Regions from separate parts of the Homo sapiens genome. Here region 1 is linked to region 2. The links are contacts of gene promoters, found by promoter capture Hi-C in blood cells and fetal thymus (Javierre and others, 2016). All regions are on one chromosome and are shown on one strand. The core of a region is centred on a gene start or on the middle of the fragment in contact, and the rest is flanking DNA. Distances in the headings are between cores, read along the strand shown. Region 1 overlaps DLD (dihydrolipoamide dehydrogenase). Region 2 holds the start of BCAP29 (B cell receptor associated protein 29).

Region 1 (5,416 bases), core at 280-2,779, 320 kb before region 2:
CAAGGTTATGACTAGGTCCTGCCCAGAAGAGACTACCTTTCTGGAAGTATCTAACAACAACAATAATTGGAGACAAAAGATTAAAACAGCTCAAAAAGTATGTCAGGAGACAAGATACGTTATGAAATGTCCTCTTCCTTTTCCGCTATGCCTCACTCTTTCTCTCCTCTAATTTTTCTACTATCAACAGCTTAAGTGGGCCTTCCTTCCTTCCTCTATCTCCCCATAGTACTCAGGAATCCAGCCTTCTCAGTGATTTCCAGATTTTAGGAAATGAAAACTGACTCTTCAAAAACACATAAAGGCAAACCTCAGGAAAAAGTTGGCAAAGGAACAGAAGATATAATGGTAGAAATCTGGATTTGCAGGGTTAGGCTTGGTTATACTTGGCTGGGAGAAATCTGGATTTAGGCCTTCTTTTTTAAGTAAATCTCTCCACATTTTTTAGATTATTTATTTTACTCTTCCTTCACTAAACATCTATTATGCGTACGTTAGACACATTTAAGTCTTTAGACAGAAGAGCCAAGTCAAGCAGTCTGGTAATATCATTAAGCATGAAAAGTATACTTACTTTCAATTCCTCTAGATGCAAAATCTTTTCCATGGGCCATATGGTAATAATGAGAGTTGTTCAATAAAGCCTAAAGGAAATTAAAAAGATCAAATTATCAAATATTCATAAACAGACTTCAAATAATCAAAAAGCACTTATGAAATGATAGTCTTTCTTTTCATTTTTTGAGACGGAGTTTCGTTCTTATTGCCCAAGCTGGAGTGCAATGGCGCCATCTCAGCTCACCGCAACCTCCGCCTCCCGGGCTCAAGCAATTGTCCCTGGGATTACAGGCATGCATCACCACGCCTGGCTAATTTTGTATTTTTAGTAGAGATGGGGTTTCTCCATGTTGGTCAGGCTGGTCCCAAACTCCCAGCCTCAGGTGATCCACCCGCCTCGGCCTCCCAAAGTGCTGGGATTACAGACGTGAGCCACCGCGCCCGGCCGATATTCTCTTTCAAATGTTCTCATCACAAAAATGATAAGTACTGTGGTAATGAATATGTTAATTAACTTGACTAAATTATTCCACATTATAGTCATAAATCATAACACCACTTTGTATGCCATAAATATATACAATTGTAATTTGTCAATTTACAATAAAAATTTAAAAAGAAGTTAAAAAAAAGACATGGCATTCTCTACATGGAATAGTATATGGCACTACACCAATTCAGTTTCTCTTATTAATCAAAGACAAACAATAATGATGTGAAAAACATTCAACAAACAAGAATGAAAAAGACATTTTTACTTTCTTTAAAAGTAAAGGCATAAGTACACACTTCAGGGTGGCAGGTGAAAAAGGCAGTCATGTTTACATACAAAAAGGACCTAAAAGAACAATTTACTATCTATTATCTGTTACACTGGTGAAGGAAAGATAAAGAGAAAAAACTAGAACATCAGAGTCTGTTTGAATGGAAAGCTAGGCATTCTGAGACAAGGAAGTTATTTCAGGAATGTGTGGCAGACTAGTGACAGCACTCTTTAAGTTTTACAAAAGAGAAGTGTGTTTTTTATCATTCTTTTTTTTCTCTGTGTGAAATGTGCCACAACTTGGATTGTTTTTTAACAAGTGTATTTGTCTAATCTAGTCTCAATCCATCCTTCTAGTTGGTTGCTAGCCAAAAACAATCTCTGTGCTGTACAAAACACATGCTCACCTTAGAAGGAATACAACCAACATTCAAGCATGTTCCACCAAGTGTTTCATTTTTCTCAATGCAGACTGTCTACAACCAAAGAAAACATTATTTAACTGCACATAACCTCAATGTTTCAGATCACTAAAATTCCAAATATATGTCTTAATTCTTCTACAAAACAAGCTATTCGGGCTATGTTTTCACAGACTAAAATATATAGTCCTTTATAATTTATCATTTGAATAATAATAAACACTTTTGGGCTGACCCAAAAGTGAATTATTCTAAAAGATATTTTTGTGTGCTTAACATTACCAAATATATGCTTTTAGTTCTATCACTGTATCTTCCAAAGTGTGATTAGATGCCAAAATGAAAAGTACTGGGAAGAGAAGAAAACTAATAGATTTCACTTTCCATTCCAAGAGAATACTACAACCAAATGAACCTAATCTTTATTAGTCTCAGGCTTACAAGTAATTTATAGAGTTAAGGAAGTATTTACCATGTTTTTGCCTGCAAAGTACTTTATAAATATGATCAACCCTTCCCAAATTAAAATAAATCAATACTTAGTTTGAGTTCAAACCTTACCTTGAAGCCTAACTGGGCAGCTTTAATAGCAGCAACATATCCTCCAGGACCAGAACCTATAACTGTTACATCAGCATCAACTACGATAAAAGCAAATTGATATAAAATAGTAAATTGCTTAATATTTACCAAAAAGAGCTCTTTGGAAGAGCAAACAAATAACCCGATACTTAAACCTCTTACAGTACAAATCAGCATTTTCTACATAGTTTCTGCACTATTTTATTACTACTACTTGATGCTCTTTGATGCTACTGAAAAATGGCATAAATACTCAAATTTCATTTTCTATTATTTTCTATTCATTACAACATACAGAAACACAACTGAGTTCTGTAACACTCACATTGTATTCACTGACCTTCCTAAATTCTATTGATTTAATAACTGACGGAATTTAGTGATACTGGAAGACAAGTATGTATGAAGCAAAGAGCCTGAGCTTTGGAATCTGACATTCTGGGCTTCATATCTCAGCACGGCCAATGAGTAGTTGTATGAACTTGACCCAATGACTTAACCTTTCTGTAATATGGGGATGAAAACACTGCCTTCAATGATTGATGTTAGAATTAAATAAGATAATTTTATATAATGCTTTAGTATTTCCAATAAATTTAAGACCTATTACCTTTTTCAGGTCCTTAACTTCTGAAATATGAGGGAAAAAACAGCTTCTATGTAATATTTAACAAATATGTTTTGTACTTGCATATTGATAATTTTTACATACCTTAAGATAATAGGCTAACCAGAATATTCAATTAACTATTGTGGCCATTTTTCAAATAAAGATAAAAAATTGAAAATTAATTTTGATCAGTATCCTTAGGAGTTTAACAATTGTAATACAAATGTGCAAGTAAGTCCAATTACTCCCATTCTTCTCAATCCAACTTCAAATAAAGTAACAGTGACTGTTAAGAGTTAGGAAACAGTCTCCCTTTTCTTCCCCTTCCACTGTCCTGACAACCCCAACTAGTCTAGCATTTAGCAATTCATAACACATATTCACATATATTATCATGTTTGAGTCTCAGAATTTCCTATGAGGAAGATAAAGATGTCATAAATAAGACATTTCACAGAATAAACAAGAAGTTCAGAGAGGTCAATTAACTTGTCTAAGGTTAACCAGCAAGTGAGTTGCAGAGACAAACTAAGCTTTTTGACTCTACTTCCGGTGGTCTTTCCATTATTCAATACTATTCCATTCCTCAGTTTTAACCATCATAAACTAAAATTCCAGAGAGCAATAATCAAGCTTTATAATCACTACCTATGTGACCTTAGGTGAGTAATTTAACCTGCTTCATCTTTGTTTCCATACCTGGCAAAAGAAAGACCACAAAAAAAACCTACTTCATAGGGTGATAACAGAATAAAATAATGTATGTAAATAATTTAGCATAGTACCTATAGCATACATAATAAGTATTCTATACATAGTAGCTATATTCTGACCTACAAAGAAGACTATTTTAATTTGCATCACCCCCTCTCCCCAAAAACACACATCCCTAGAGTAGGATCATTCAAAAAACCTTTGCTGGCCTGAACAGAATCACAGAACCTCTGTGTTGGTGGATAACTAAGTTACTCAGCCCAATTATCCACAAAATCTAAGAATCCCTCCTGTTGAATAAATGAAAATACTAGATTCTCTTTGGTTATAGCAGATGATAATTGAGATAATACATGAAAAAATATGTATAGTCATTTCAATACATGAAAAATTGCTTCAATTTTTACTGATCCATCTGTGCTTTTTAGCCACCCTGCTTGGTTCACTGATTTCGGTTCAGAATTAAGTATCTAATAAAATGTATTTTTATTTTCAAATCTTGAACCAAATGACGATCTACACAACATCCCTTAAATGGGTTCTAATTTTTAATTTCAGAGTAATGTAAATACAAGCTACAAAACAGGTTTCTTTGCTGAATTTTTAATGTCTTTTCTGATTAAAAATTTAGGTTTACTGAATAAATTTAAATACACTAAAGCAAAATTAAAAAAAAAACAACCCATCCACATTGCCATACAGCCCAGAGAGAACTGTTTATAGGTCCTCCCAATCCTTCTTCTAGGAAAGTTTTTATAAAATTCAATTTTTGCCATATTTTATATTCTTTTCTCACTCTTACATGAGCATATATATTTATAACATATATTACTGCTATAATTCTCCAAAAACCCTTTTAATGACAATAAAACTGAATTAAATATTTTAGATTTTAAGTATATGTATTTTTGAGCATATACTTTTAATCACTGATATGTAACAATTCTTATAGTAGGTCCATGGTACTAAAATGATAAATAAATTTGGTTTGGAAAAGAACTTGTTTTAGTAAGGTCAGGAGAAGTAAACAAGAGATAAAAGATAATAGCCAAAAACCTTGGGTTTTACTTCCCTATTCACTATGTAATCTTAGGTGTTTTTTTTTAAACTTCAGAAAATACCAAAAATTCAAGAGCTCCTCTCTCACTGTACATACTAGATGTAATATTCCATTACAATACCACTAAAGTGCTAAGATGCACAAAAATGAGAAAAAAGCAGACTCTTTATGTAAAGATCTGTCAACTGAGAATACAGGAGGGTATAAGCCAGGAACAAACTTTCAAAAACAAACCAGTATTTAGGGGAAGTATACACACGTCTGCACTGATGGATAAACGAATGAGCACATATGTGGTACTGTAAGCACAGAAAATGTTAATGGAAGAAAACTATGGGTGTTCAATGTAAAATTCTTATAATTTTCTAAATGCTTATAATTTTTCATAATAAAATGTCAGAAAAACAAATCATCTACCTCTCACCTGTACCAAAGGATGCATATAAATGAAAGCTGATAACACATGATTCTGACTCACCCTCTCCTTGTCAAGAATAATTTCACAGGTTGAGTCCCATACATAAAGTTAAAAAATCAGGGCCGGGTGTGGTGGCTCACACCTGTAATCCTCAGCACTTTGGGAGGCCGAGGCAGGCGGATCACGAGGTCAGGAGATCAAGACCAAACCCCGTCTCTACTAAAAATACAAAAAAAATTAGCCGGGCGTGGTGGCAGGCACCTGTAGTCCCAGCTGCTGGGGAGGCTGA
Region 2 (5,169 bases), core at 1,288-3,787:
TGGTGTGGTGTAAAAGGGAATGTAAGAGATCTCTCATAGGGAACAACTAGCAGTTGAGCACCTTATCATAGCTAATACCTATTGTGTTCTCACTATATTATGGTTCTAAGTACTTTTACATGTTTTATCTCATTTAATTACAACAACTACCGTAAGGGGTAGACACTAGTACTACCTCCATTTTACAGATGGGGAAACAGATCAGAGAGGATCAAGAGCATGCCCAAGGTTAGTAACATGCAGTTATAGGTGACCTGATTTCTGAGCATGTGCCTTTAACCACTGGGTTATGTAAGAAAATAATAGAGACTAAATGATGAAATATTTTCTTTAAAGATTATGGTGATACAAATATAAAAGATAAAAAGATGTGGATACACACATAGGACATATTGTAAATGATCTGCGTGCATACATACCGTATTTTCTTTATATCTGTACATGAGAACACATTTATATATCATATGCAAATATACACACATCTATCTAATAGCTACTTGATCAGGATGGGTAAAATTTTTATTTGGCAGGAAGAAAAATATTGATCCATAAGTTACAGATCACTCTGATGGAGTAAAGATCAACTGACAATTTTTCCTTCTTTGCAAACCCTTAAGCCTTATCTATAAATTAGATGTTTATATACAAAATCTTTCTTTCTCTTGAGTATATAGGATTCTATCATTGCAAATATTACCAAAAAGCAAAACAGGGTGTTACTGAGTTTGAAACAAAACCTACAGGATGAGAGGCAGCATGATGGAGTAGAAAGAACACTGGACTAAGAGCCAGATTTTTTTCTAGAATCTGTCACTTACCAGCTAGGTAACCGTAGGCTACTTGCCCTCCTGGGTCTCAGTACGTGATATATAGAACATGGGTGGAATGGATCAAATAAGATCAAAGACCCTACAGTATGATTCAATTTTTTTTCTTTAGTAAGAAACAACTTACTGAGCTTAGCTTAGCTGATAGAGAAGGACAGAAGAGAGCAGAAATCCAGGCAGGTAAGGAGCAAGTTAGGAGTTGTGAAAGACTATCTGGACCCTGAGCTAAGGTGAAACTTTAAGAAGTTTCTCCCAGTCCTGGGATTTTAATACACTTTAGTGGGTTATCTCTAGGATCTCACTTATGAAATACTTTCTTTTATGCCAGGAGTATGAACAAATATCTTGCAATATTTTTATTACATGTGTATTTCCCCATTCATACTATCAAATTTCTGGATCTAAAATTAAACGACTAAAAAGTAGATTACTGCAAGGGTAAAATGAACCACTGCTTGGCTTGAAACACTGTACTTGGTTCTTCAAGACCTTAGAAGTTCCGTCACTAACGAACTAATGCTAATACATGGTTGTGATACTTTTCACATTCAGCACTTTTAATATACATTCATTAATTTTATGTGAAATCAAAAGTAGTAAAATTGTCATTAATGAAACTAACGGTTACAAAGGCGAAAACTAAGAATAATTTATTGGCTTTGGTTTCTAAATTGCTGTTCCAGTGCCTCAGTGAAACACTTTTACACCCATGCTGTACTGTAAACATGATTTATCCACTTATATTTATTTAGTTCATGGCTCCAATTCAGGGCAATAAAACAAAGGTAAAACCTGAGACAAGGCAGGGCAGGTGTTAAAAGTATAATCGTTGCTTTATTATATCTGTAATCAACAGAATCAAAAGTATAGGCGCCTTTTCTTTTAGAAGGGAAGAAAAAGTTATTTCACTTGTACACGTAACAGAGTTTTATATAAAATGTTATTTTAATATTGTCATTATATACTACCTAATTCGTTAGGTGAGTTTATTTTCAAAGACTTTCGAAACTTTTTAATGTTCAGAAAACTTTTTCCATTTTACATTAAGAGCGATCCAATATTTATTAGTTAACGATTTGAAGGTTTCCTACCTCTGAGGAGGAATAAAAGGTAGGCAGAAGATTAAAATGAGTCCTATTTCGGCATAAAGAAAGGTTGCCACTGCAGCCCATTGGAGTGTCATTTTTTTCTTCACACCTAAATGGAAAAACACTTATTTTCTCTTGCTTCCTTTCAAACAAAACCGGGTTCAAGGCCCCGAGGCGCAGCGTTTTTGTCCAGGGGATGGACAGTGTTCCACCTTCCCCCACCTGGGAAGGCAAGCACGGACCCCGGTCAGGAAGGGGAAAAGGGTGGCCCGGGAAGCGGGTGTCGCCACCTCCCTGGGAGTCGTGGGAACTGGCGAGGCGGCTCGCTGGCCACTGCCTTTTCCGCCAGCTTCGCGGCGACAGAAGCCCAACGCCTCCCTCCACCAACGCCCGGCTTCCCGGCCCTCCCGCTCCCAGAAGGCGCCGCGGGCCCTCGACCACCGCGCCGCGGACCGGGCCGGGCCGGGTCGGGCCAGGCCAGCTCCGCGGGGTTCTCCAGACCAGGCAGCGGCGCTCTCCCTCCGCGGCCTACGCCCCACGGGTCCCCGGGTCGCAGAAGCCCTTACCCGCCGGCAGCCCGCCTGGCTCCCTGCGCTGCTCCGCGGCCGCCGACGCGCGGGACGTCAGACGCCGCGGCTGGGCGGGGGAGGGGAGCCAGGGCCCCACCCCGCCTCACGCCCCGCAGGCTCCCGCCCGCGGGTCCGTCCCGGCTGAGGTCACAGGCGGCGCGACCACGTTTATTGGCAACAGTTGTTTTCTAATTGGCGGCAGGTCAGAGAATGAGTTAGACTTTTGACCTGATGCTTGGAGGTCGGAGCGCAACTTCTTCAGGAGGACAGACTTTCCACTGCTAAGTGCGGCCCCGGCGGGAGGGTGCCGGGGTCCAGGTCTAAGGAGCGGCGCCGGGCGGCGGGGCTGGATTGGGTGGTGCAAATTCAGCGAACGCGCTTAAGACGCACTCCTTTCCGGTCACCTACTCTCTCTTCATGGTGGGAACTGTTTGTGTCCAGAATTAAGCTATATTTAATAAAGGGCCAGGATGAGGTGGTCGTGCAGCATTTTGTTCTGGAGAACCTAGGATCAACTGTATGTCACAACATATTCCGTAGGCGTTCCCGTTCCCGTCCATGGGCTGGGAAGAGACAGTAAACTTTACCGTGATGTTTGGGGACTGGTACGAAAGGTGGGTATGGGGATATTCTTTCACTATTTTCCAGCTTTTCAAACTGTGCGTGTACATTTAAGTTGTTGAGTTTTTTCAATATTGACAACGTATCAGGAATTTAATAAAAGTACTATCCTGGTAACAATTATTTGGGGAATAGTAAATAAATGTTGAAAATTGATAATTATAGAATATAAAACATTCAAAAACACATTTAAGTTGGTGCTTTTTCTTAATTTATCACTAATATTCTGGATCACATGTAACAGAAAAAATAGAAAAATAGACTTTGAACATAAATTAACCATAAGGAAGATTTTTTTTTTTTTTTTGAGATGGAGTCTCCCAATGTCGCCCAGGCTGGATTGTGGTGGTGCGATCTCGGCTCACTGTAGCCTCTGCCTCCCAGGTTCAAGTGATTCTCTGGCCCCAGTCTCCAGAGTGGCTGGGATTACAGGCGCCTGCCACCATGCCTAGCTAATTGTTGTATTTTTAGCAGAGACAGGGTTTCACCATGTTGGCCAGGCTGGTCTCGAACTCCTGGACTCAAGTGATCTGCCTGCCTTGGCCTCCCAAACTGTTGGGATTACAGGTGTGAGCCACCGCGCCTAGCCAGGAAGTTACTTTTTTTTTTTTTTTTTTGAGACAGAGTCTTGCTCTGTTGCCCAGGCAGGAGTGCAGTGGCGCAATCTCAGCTCACTGCAAGCTCCACCTCCCAGGTTCACACCATTCTCCTGCCTCAGCCTCCTGAGTAGCTGGGACTATAGGCGCCCGCCACCACGCCCAGCTAATTTTTGTATTTTTAGTAGAGACGGGGTTTCACCGTGTTATCCAGGATGGTCTTGATCTCCTGACCTCGTGATCTGCCCGTCTTGGCCTCCCAAAGTGCTGGGATCACAGGCGTGAGCCACCGCGCCCGGCCAGGAAGTTACTTTTAATCAAAAGTGTTAGAACTTCTTGCCCATCCACGCTGGTTCCTTCCAAACACCGAGCACATTACTCTAGTGATGATGCTGTGCTCACAACACTAGGGTAATTCAATTCAGAGTTCTGACCATACCTCCCTATTTTGTACAGTATTCATAGAAAATGAAACAGCGAGTTATCTTTAAAAAAAAAAATGCATTAACTGAAAAGTGAAAACAGAATGTACTGAGAAAAAAGATGGCACCACAGTGCTTATGTTAAAATGGATTCATTCAATATTCCCAAACGTGAATTAAACAGTTTTACATAATTGTTTCCTTATAACAGTTTTCATGTTGGCAAAACAAAATAATACTTTAATTATGAACGGTTTTATTTCAGTCTGAGATACTTAATTCTTGCAGTGCATGCCCACCGATAACAAAATCTATTAATAACACTCCAAAACCATGGGACTTTAAAGTTACAATCAACGGCTGAGAGGCACAAAAGTAATTAGGTTTTAAAGTTAAAAACAAAACCTGGTTACTATTCTCTAGGAAATATTTCAAATATATAATCATCTCCAGGTTGGACACCAAATTTCCTATACTTAAGATATGGTAGATTGCAATTAATTTTATCTTTTTAGGTAGGAGATTATTAAGCTTTCAATCTTTGGAGGACCTAGAAGTTTTGAAATGTACCAAATTTAATGTCATTAACCAAATGGAATTTTTAATATAAGTTCTGAGTGCAATTCTATTCAGAATTTCCTGTTCTTTTTCATTTTGGATGGATGTTGGTATTTGTTCCACCACTTTTTTGCACCTGCATACTTCTTGTTAATTTATAGATACTATAAGCCATAATTTCTTAGTATTAAATTTTATTTTAAAATGTTAAAAACATGATTAGGAAAAAATTCCCACTCTACCCATCCCCCCAATATCTATAGAACAGGATTCAGAGCAGTATTTGTCAATGTTTGCCTAGGATGATCAGGATGTTTGAACCACTGGGAGTTTTCTTTAAACTGTGTATTTCTGGGTCTACTCCAGATCTACCTAATCAGAATCTCTGAGGGTGGTGTCTACAACTGATTTTTAAAAAACGCTCCCAGGAATTGTTTTTATACTAAAATTTGAGAGCTACTGGTTTAAGGTACAAAATATGACCTTCT

The links. The method cuts DNA at HindIII sites, captures the fragments that hold promoters and counts their contacts. A CHiCAGO score of 5 or more calls a contact.
Region 1: a fragment that was not itself captured here is called in contact with the fragment with the promoter of BCAP29 in region 2 in 1 of 17 cell types (erythroblasts); the score reaches 7.7 in erythroblasts.

The regions. Positions count from the first base shown.
Region 1 is chr7:107,898,706-107,904,121 of GRCh38, reverse strand. It overlaps DLD (dihydrolipoamide dehydrogenase), which reads right to left. Exons shown (of 14, transcript NM_000108.5): 3 at 2,305-2,384; 4 at 1,729-1,797; 5 at 575-644. Among named protein-coding and RNA genes, the nearest start is that of DLD, 10 kb to the right of the region's middle. The HindIII fragment of the contact is 3,883 bases long and covers 1-3,470 here.
Region 2 is chr7:107,577,614-107,582,782 of GRCh38, reverse strand. It overlaps BCAP29 (B cell receptor associated protein 29), which reads right to left and starts at 2,537. Exons shown (of 8, transcript NM_018844.4): 1 at 2,482-2,537; 2 at 1,919-2,024. The coding sequence starts at 2,010. It overlaps DUS4L-BCAP29 (DUS4L-BCAP29 readthrough), which reads right to left. Exons shown (of 13, transcript NR_163941.2): 7 at 1,919-2,024. It overlaps DUS4L (dihydrouridine synthase 4 like), which reads right to left. Exons shown (of 8, transcript NM_181581.3): 8 at 4,260-5,169. RefSeq lists an enhancer at 2,030-2,099 and a silencer at 2,190-2,679. The HindIII fragment of the contact is 6,036 bases long and covers 1-4,656 here.